2 separate regions of the Homo sapiens genome follow, and region 2 is linked to region 1. Evidence: promoter capture Hi-C in human tissues and cell types (Jung and others, 2019). All regions are on one chromosome and are shown on one strand. The core of a region is centred on a gene start or on the middle of the fragment in contact, and the rest is flanking DNA. Distances in the headings are between cores, read along the strand shown.

The links. The method cuts DNA at HindIII sites, captures the fragments that hold promoters and counts their contacts. A contact is called where the count stands out against the background at its distance.
Region 2: a fragment that was not itself captured here is called in contact with the fragment with the promoter of E2F6 in region 1 in 2 of the 25 tissues and cell types used here (IMR-90 fibroblasts and aorta).

Annotation. Positions count from the first base shown.
Region 1 is chr2:11,464,612-11,468,391 of GRCh38, forward strand. It overlaps E2F6 (E2F transcription factor 6), which reads right to left and starts at 1,550. Exons shown (of 7, transcript NM_198256.4): 1 at 1,161-1,550. The coding sequence starts at 1,268. RefSeq lists enhancers at 744-1,301, 1,302-1,858, 2,286-2,365. The HindIII fragment of the contact is 18,503 bases long and covers 1-3,780 here.
Region 2 is chr2:10,850,540-10,854,428 of GRCh38, forward strand. LOC124905973 (a long non-coding RNA gene) reads right to left here and starts at 1,891. Exons shown (of 3, transcript XR_007086215.1): 1 at 1,747-1,891. The HindIII fragment of the contact is 7,119 bases long and covers 1-3,889 here.

The sequences.
Region 1 (3,780 bases), core at 300-2,799:
TGGGGATGGATTTAGAATGCGGTTTTAGTAGTCAAGAATTTATCATCTGGAGTTAGACATTTGGAGCTTCAACCCAAGTTTCTACACTTATTATCCAGCCACAGGCAAGCCGGCGTTACATGCATCTCCAAGTCTGTTTTGGCAACCGTGAAACAAGAATAATAATCTTTTAGTATTATAAAACACTGCTGTGAGAAATGAGAAATTAAATGAGGCAATAATCACAAACTATTTGGTAGGGGAACCAGGCATAATGACTTGGGAAAATGTTTAATTACTACTAGTTATAGAAAGAAAGCAGCAGAGAAATTGAAAATACGGGGAGAGGTCGGGCTCGGTGGATCACCTGAGGTCGTCAGGAGTTCGAGACCAGCCTGGCCAACACGGCGAAATCCCGTCTCTACTAAAAATACAAAATTAGCTGGGTGTGGTGGCGCATGCCTGTGATCCCAGCTACATGGGAGGCTGAAGCAGGAGAATCTCTTGAACCTGGGAGGTGGGGGTTGCAGTGAGCTGAGATTGCGCCATTGCACTCCAGCCTGGGGAACAAAAGTAAAACTCAATCTCAAAAAAAAAAAAAAAAAAGAAAAAAAAGAAAGAAAAGAAAAAGAAAATGCATTTGTTGAGGGCCCTGATAACCGCGGGGAATACAGCATCTGGTCCTGAACAAGAGAAGAAATCAGCCTTTGCAGGAAAGGGAGCCAAATTTCCTAACCATTTTCTCTGTCAAACAGGTGGGGAGATAATTTGATGAATGGGAGCTGTGGCGTGGGAAATATAAAGCGTGGACAAGGTTTTAAACGGCTGCAGTAGAGCAGAAGGATGGGAGAGGAGGCAGAAAAACAAATGATAGGTTGCAGAGATACAGCTAGAGTCCATAGAAGGAGATAAACATGGACTCTCTAATGCAAAGTTGAGCAATTTTCTCCAACAGTGCTCTGAAGTTCCGATGTAAAAGCCTAGAAGACTGATACCACGTCTGTGAGCAGATGCTGAAAGCAGAAGGCGGGAGAGCGCAGTTCGCAGCACGTGATGGGCAGCGCCTGGCCCAGGGGGAGCAGACGACCCAGACGACGGCCAGCGGGGTTGGCGGCGGCGCGGGGAGGAGGGGGCCGGATTTGGGAGACCACCGCCCGTCCCCGTCCCGTCCCGGAGCTTACCAGCAGGCCCTCCACGTTGATGGGGTCTCGGCACCGACGGCGAACCGTCTCCTCCGTCGGGTCCAGGAGGAGACTGGGTAACTTCCTCGCCGGCCGCTGCTGACTCATGCTGCCCGGCCGGGCGTCCTGCTCCCCTCGCACCCCACGAGCTCTCCCGCCCTCTCGCGCTCAGCTCGAGCACCGCCCCCCACGCGCCGATTTCCAAGGGCCCAGCACCTAAGGGGTCCGCGGCTTCCTCCGAGGCGCCGCCCGGCTAGGCCGTCCCGCCCGCCAGTAAACGCGGCACGGCCTCACGTGCCCGGGAGCTCCCGACGCAGACGGAAAAAGAGGAGGGAGACCCGCGGATCTCAAGTCGCCCGGCCCGCCATCTTCCCGCATGCGCAGTACACCGCCCCCCTCTGCGCATGCCCGCCGCTGCCGGAGCGCTCCCACGCACCGATCCTCTCCCGGCGGCTGCCGCCCGGGAAACCCGGACCGCGGAATCCACGGAGAGGCTGGCAAAGGAAAAGGAAGAGGTGGAGCCGAATTCCAGAGGAAGGGAACAGGGGTGAGAGAAAAGAGGCAACCGGGAAAACCCAGCGGTCGCCTGGAATTCTCGACGGTGATAACTGAAAGTTCTGAGGTGATAACTGAAAGTTCTGAGCCGCAGAGATGTTCATTTATTCCTTTTTTTTATTTTAATTTTTTTTTTGGTCGCCCAGGCTGGAGTGCAGTGGCGTGGTCAGGGCTCACTGCAGCCTTGAATTCCCGGGCTCAAGCGATCCTCCACCTCAGCCTCCCAAGTAGCTGGGACTACATGCGCGCGCCACTGTGCCTGGCTAATTTTTAATTTTAATTTTAGTAGAGACAGGGTCTCAGTATATTGCCCCGGCTGGTCCTGAACTCTGGGGCTCAAGCCGTCCTCCCACCTTGGCCTCTCAAGTGCTGGGATTATAGGCGTGAGCTACCACACCCAGCCTTCATTTATTCGTGAGCTCTGTTAGCGCATCTTACAGGCAGGTCAGTGTTGATGCTTAGTAAATGTGAGCAACCACACCATTGTGGAATCGTTTTACCTCTGCCTGCCCGCCTGCCTGCCTGCCTGCCTTCCTTCCTTCCTTCCTTCCTTCCTTCCTTCCTCCTTCCTGTTTGACGAATGAGTTATCGTTGACCTATAGTGTCAGATATTGGGGTGGGCACAGGCGATACTTATTCGTTTGAATATGCCACGGGTTCAACCTCCAATTTCAGTGGGGACAGATAAGTAAACAGAGCATGTTAATTTAGCTGGAGCCAGAAGGTGTGTTTTCAAGTCCTGGCTGCCTCTACGTATAAACTAGAAGACCTTATTAAGCCAGTTACTTAATCTGTCTGTGCCTCAGTTTCCTTATTTGGAAAATGCAAATAATGACAATACTTACCTGATAAGGTTGTTGTGAGGATTAAATGGATTAATGGATACAGGTTGCTGTGATTAGAACAGAGGCCAGCACATGTTTGAAATAAAAAGGCAACACACCGTGGTATGTACAGAGTTGGAGGGAAACAACTGGTTAGACTGGGGGTTTCTACACAGCCTGAGGTGGGCGAGGTGAGGCAGGGAAAAATCCCCGAAGAAGCTGGTTCCCCACTAGACTGTGAGGTCAGAGGCCTTCTCTAATCTTTTTTTTTTTTTTTCTGTCACCCAGGCTGGAGGGCAGTGTCACGGTCATAATTCACTGTAGCGTCAAACTCCTGGCCTCAAGTGATCTCCCAGCTAAGACTCCCAAGTAGCTGAGAGTACAGGTGCATGCCACCATGCCTGGCTAATTTTTTTTTATGTTTTATTTTATTTTATTTTTTGAACTCCTTACCTTAAGCAATCCTCCTGCCTCAGCCTCCCAAGGTGCTGGAGTTATAGGCGTGAGACACCCATGCCTGGCTTCTAATCTTTGTATCTCTATCATCTAGCAAAGTGTCTGGCAAATAAAACATGCTCTATTAATGTTTGCTAAATAAACGATGAGAAAAAAAGAGAACGTAGCGGAGGTCTCGAGAAGACTGCATATTGTTGCAGAATGGAGAATTTCCCAGAGCCGTTAGAAATGGCCATTTGAAGGCATTTATTCAGCATCTGCTATGTGTTTGGCATTCCACATGCATTTGCTTATGTAAATCTCATATCAAAACTGAAAGATAGGTATTTTTCTGCCCAATTTGCAGATCAGCAAAATTAAGATCAGCAGGATTACAAAAATTTACTCAAGGTCCTAGTAGGCAGTGGTAGAGGCAGGCTTTGACTCCACAACTGATTAATTAATTTGGCATTCAGATCTTTAGGAAGATTCTTCAAGGACGACTAGATTCTCTACAACCAGAGTTGGGGTTGGGCAAGTAAAGGTGGGGTGTGGATCAGGACGGAGTAGCAAGTGGTCCAGGCTAAAGAAAGAGCATGAGCACAGAGCTGGGGAGAGTCGGGGAAATGGCACAATCCTCACACTTATTGTGCCTGTGACCTGGCTTTTCCCCAAGACATAATCTTTTGCACATTTTTTTTTTTGAAGCATCTCTCATGGGCCAAGCAGTAGGGTAGGTGTTGAGGGAAGAACTGAATCTGATGGGGCCTTACCTTGTGTTCCAGGGGCTACTAGCCTGGGGGAGA
Region 2 (3,889 bases), core at 524-3,023, 610 kb before region 1:
TGTAATCCCAGCACTTTGGGAGGCTGAGGTAGGTGGATCACTTGAGTCCAGAAGTTTGAGACCACCTTGAGCGACATGGCAAAACCCTGTCTCTACTAAAAATACAAAAAATTAGCCTGGCATGGTGGCAGGTGCCTGTAATCCCAGCTACTCAGGAGGTTGAAGAGGTAGGATCGCTTTAGCCTGGGAGGTCAACGCTGCAGTGAGCCACAATCACACCACTGCACTCCAGCCTGGGTGACACAGCCAGACCCTGTCTCAAAAGCAAAACAAGGTGACAACAAAAAACAATGCGACCTTTGTCTGTTGTCTGCTTATGACCTGGAAGCCCCTTGCTTCTAGTTGTCCTGCCTTTCCGGGCCAAACCAATGAATATCTTACACGTATTGACTGATGTGTCATGTCTCCCTAAAAGGTGTTAAAGCAAGCTGGGCTGGGCGTGGTGGCTCACGCCTGTAACCCCAGCACTTTGGGAGGCTGAGGCAGGTGGATCACTTGAGGTCAGGAGTTCAAGACCAGCCTGGCCAACATGGCGAAACCCCATCTCTACTAAAAATACAAATAAATTAGCTGGGTGTGGTGGTGCACACCTGTAGTCCCAGCTACTCAAGAGGCTGAGGCATGAGAATTGCTTGAACCTGGGAGGCGGAGGTTGCAGTAAGCCAAGATCGTGCTACTGCACTCCAGCCTGGGCGATAGAGTGAGGCTCAGTCTCCAAAAAAAAAAAGCAAGCTGTGCCCCTACCATCACCATCTTGGGCACATGTCTTGAGGACCTCCTGAGACTGTGTCAGGGCACAGCCTTAACCTTGGCAAAATAAACTTTCTAAATTGATTGAGATCTGTCTCGGATACTTTTGGGTGCACAGTTACAGCGGCATATAAGCCCTCAGGTCTACCTGTCTCTTTGGATCCTCATTTCTTTTCTGTGAAGGCCTCCATGTGCACATGAAAATGAAAATTACATCAAGTAAAATCTATATGCCTTTCCCCCTGTTAATCTGTCTTTTTTCAGCTTAATTCACAGACCCTCACTATAGAATGTAAGACAGTAGAGGAAAGCATTTTTCCCTCCCTTATAGCAGTAAGGATATTCACATCGTGCAACTATCACCACCTTCCTCTCCAGAACTCTTTCATTATCCCAAACTGAAACTCTATGTCCATTAAACAATAACTCACCACTCCTCCTTCCCTCCAGCCCCTGGCAATCACCGTTGTATCATCTGTCCTTTTGAATCTGACTGCCTTAGGTACCTCATACAAGTGGAATCATTCAGTACTTATTCTTTTGTGACTGGCTCTCTTCACTTAGCATGTTTTCAAGGTTCATTCATGTGGGCGCATGCATCAGGATTTCTTTCTTTTTAAGACTGTGTGATATTGTGATATTATATACATACATACTTGGTTTATGTCCTGGCAGCGAGCTCCTAAAACCCTTGCAATTTCCTGACTGATGGGGTGATAGAAAGATCTTTTGTTAGGATATTTGGTCTTAGTCTTTGGTTCCTGACGTAAGAGCATCTAAGGCCCTTGTATCACCAGATGAGTGTCTTTCTGTAGGCTAATGAGATGATTGGTGGATGGGCGCCCCTAGATACCTTTAGGAGGAGGGCTGGCCTCCAGAAAGACCAAGGTATTACTAGAGGGTTGGAACTTTCAGCTTCAATCCCCAATCTCCAGAGAGGAGAGAGGGACTGGAAATTAATCAGTCACCTAGAACCAACGATTTAATCAGTCATACCTTCATAACGGAACCTCCATGAAAATCCTAAACAATGGGGTTCAGCGAGATTCTGAGTTGGTGAACACATTGAGGTACTGGGAAGGGAATCCACTCAGAGAAGGCGTGGAAGCTTCTCCCCCTTCCCGGATACCATGCTCTGTGCATCTCTTCCATTTAGCTGCTTTTGAGTCATATCCTTTATGAGAAGGTGGTAATAGTAGGTATGTGCCTTCCTGAGTTCTGTGACCTCTTCTAGCAGATTATTGAACCAGAGGAGGGCATTGTGAGGACCACTGATTTACAGCTTGTTGGTCATAAGTACAGGAGGCCCACCCTTGGGATTGGTGTCTGAAGTGGGAGCAGTCTTGTGGGACTGAGCCCATAGCCTGTCTGATGCTAACTCCAGAAAATAGTGTCAGAATTGAATTGAGTCATTGTATATCCAGTTGGTTTCTGGAGAGTTAGAGAATTGGTGGTTGATGTGGAAAAAAACCCATTCATTTGGTGTCATAAGTGTCGGGAATAGAAACAGATCATGGCAATAGGCTGAGTGATTTTTCATTGTGTGTATATAGCACAACTTGCTTATCCATTCATTCACTGATGGACACATAGGTTGTTTCCACCCTTTGGTGAAAACAATATTCCTTATTGTGAATAATGCTGCTATCACATGGGTGTACAAATATCTGTTCAAGTCCCTTCAGTTCTTTTGAGAATATATACCCAGAAGTGGAATTGCTGGGTGAAATGGTAATTTTATGTTCAAGTTTTTGAGGAACTGTCATACTATTTTTCACATGGCTATACCATTTTATATTTCCACCAGTTATGCACAAGGGTTCTAATGTCTCAACATCCTCACCAACACTTGCTATGTTCTGTTGTTGTTGTTGTGGTTGTTTTCTATAATAGCCATTCTAGTGAGTGTGAAATTGTATTTCATTGTGGGTTTGATGTGTGTATCCCTAATGACTAAGGATCTTGAGCATTTTTTCATGTGCTTATTGGCTACCTGTGTATTTTCCTTGGAGAAATGTCTATTCAAATCCTTTGCCCTTTCTCTTTTTTTAAGAAAATATTTTCTCATTCTTGCAAATAATTTTTGCCATTTCTTTCTTTATCTTATGTATATATACTACTATGCTCTTTAAAATTTTTGTCCTCCTCTTCCAATATTTCTGCTTCAGACACGAAATGATGCTTACCTAGCTGGCTTTGTTTCATGGTAGTTGTCCTCAGGAATCTGGTTACATTGGCCTATGAGCTCAGAACCCCATGAGAATGGGGTTTTGGTTACTCCCTCTGGAAATGTGTTCTTGGGAAGGGTCAAAGGCCATGCCCATGTCCATCCCTGCGTTTAATGGAAGGAGAGAAATGGACCCTAGGTTGAAGACCTCCAGATCTCAGATTCACTGGATTTTTGTCTCTTCACCTGGCAACTGCATTCTTCAGAGTTGTACCACCAACCCCCCAGGGAAAAGCAGTCTTGGGCAGAGCCGGTCTCCTCAGATCCCAGGGCTGTGGGTGTCTGTGGGTGAGTGACTGGGGTTGAATGCTCTGTCCTCACCTGTTTTTATCAAATCCTCACCCTGGCAGGAATCATGGATTGCCGTGACATTATTTCAGACACCAGGAGCAGCTGCCTGTCCTGAAGGGCCAGGCAATGGCTGCACCAAGCCTTGCAGAACGGGGACCAGAGTGGAACTTAGAAATGCCTTCTTGCCTACCTTTTTTTTTTTTTTTTTTTTTGAGATGGACTTTCACTCTTGTTGCCCATGTTGGAGTGCAATGGCATGATCTCGGCTCACCACAACCTCTGCCTCCCGGGTTCAAGTGATTCTCTGGACTCAGTATCCCGAGTAGCTGGGATTACAGGCATGCGCCATCACGCTGGCTAATTTTGTATTTTTAGTAGAGACGGGTTTTTTCCATGTTGGTCAGGCTGGTCTTGAACTCCTGACCTCAGGTGATCTGCCTGCCTCGGCCTCCCAAAGTGCTGGGATTACAGGCGTGAGCCACTGTGTCCGGCCTCGCCTACCCTCTTATTGCCCCCTCTGGCTGTCTTCCAGGCTGTAGCTCCCTATGCCACCACCTCGATGCCAGTCCCACTCCAACCAGTAAGAACCAGAGCATCTACCCCACACTGGGCATGGACACT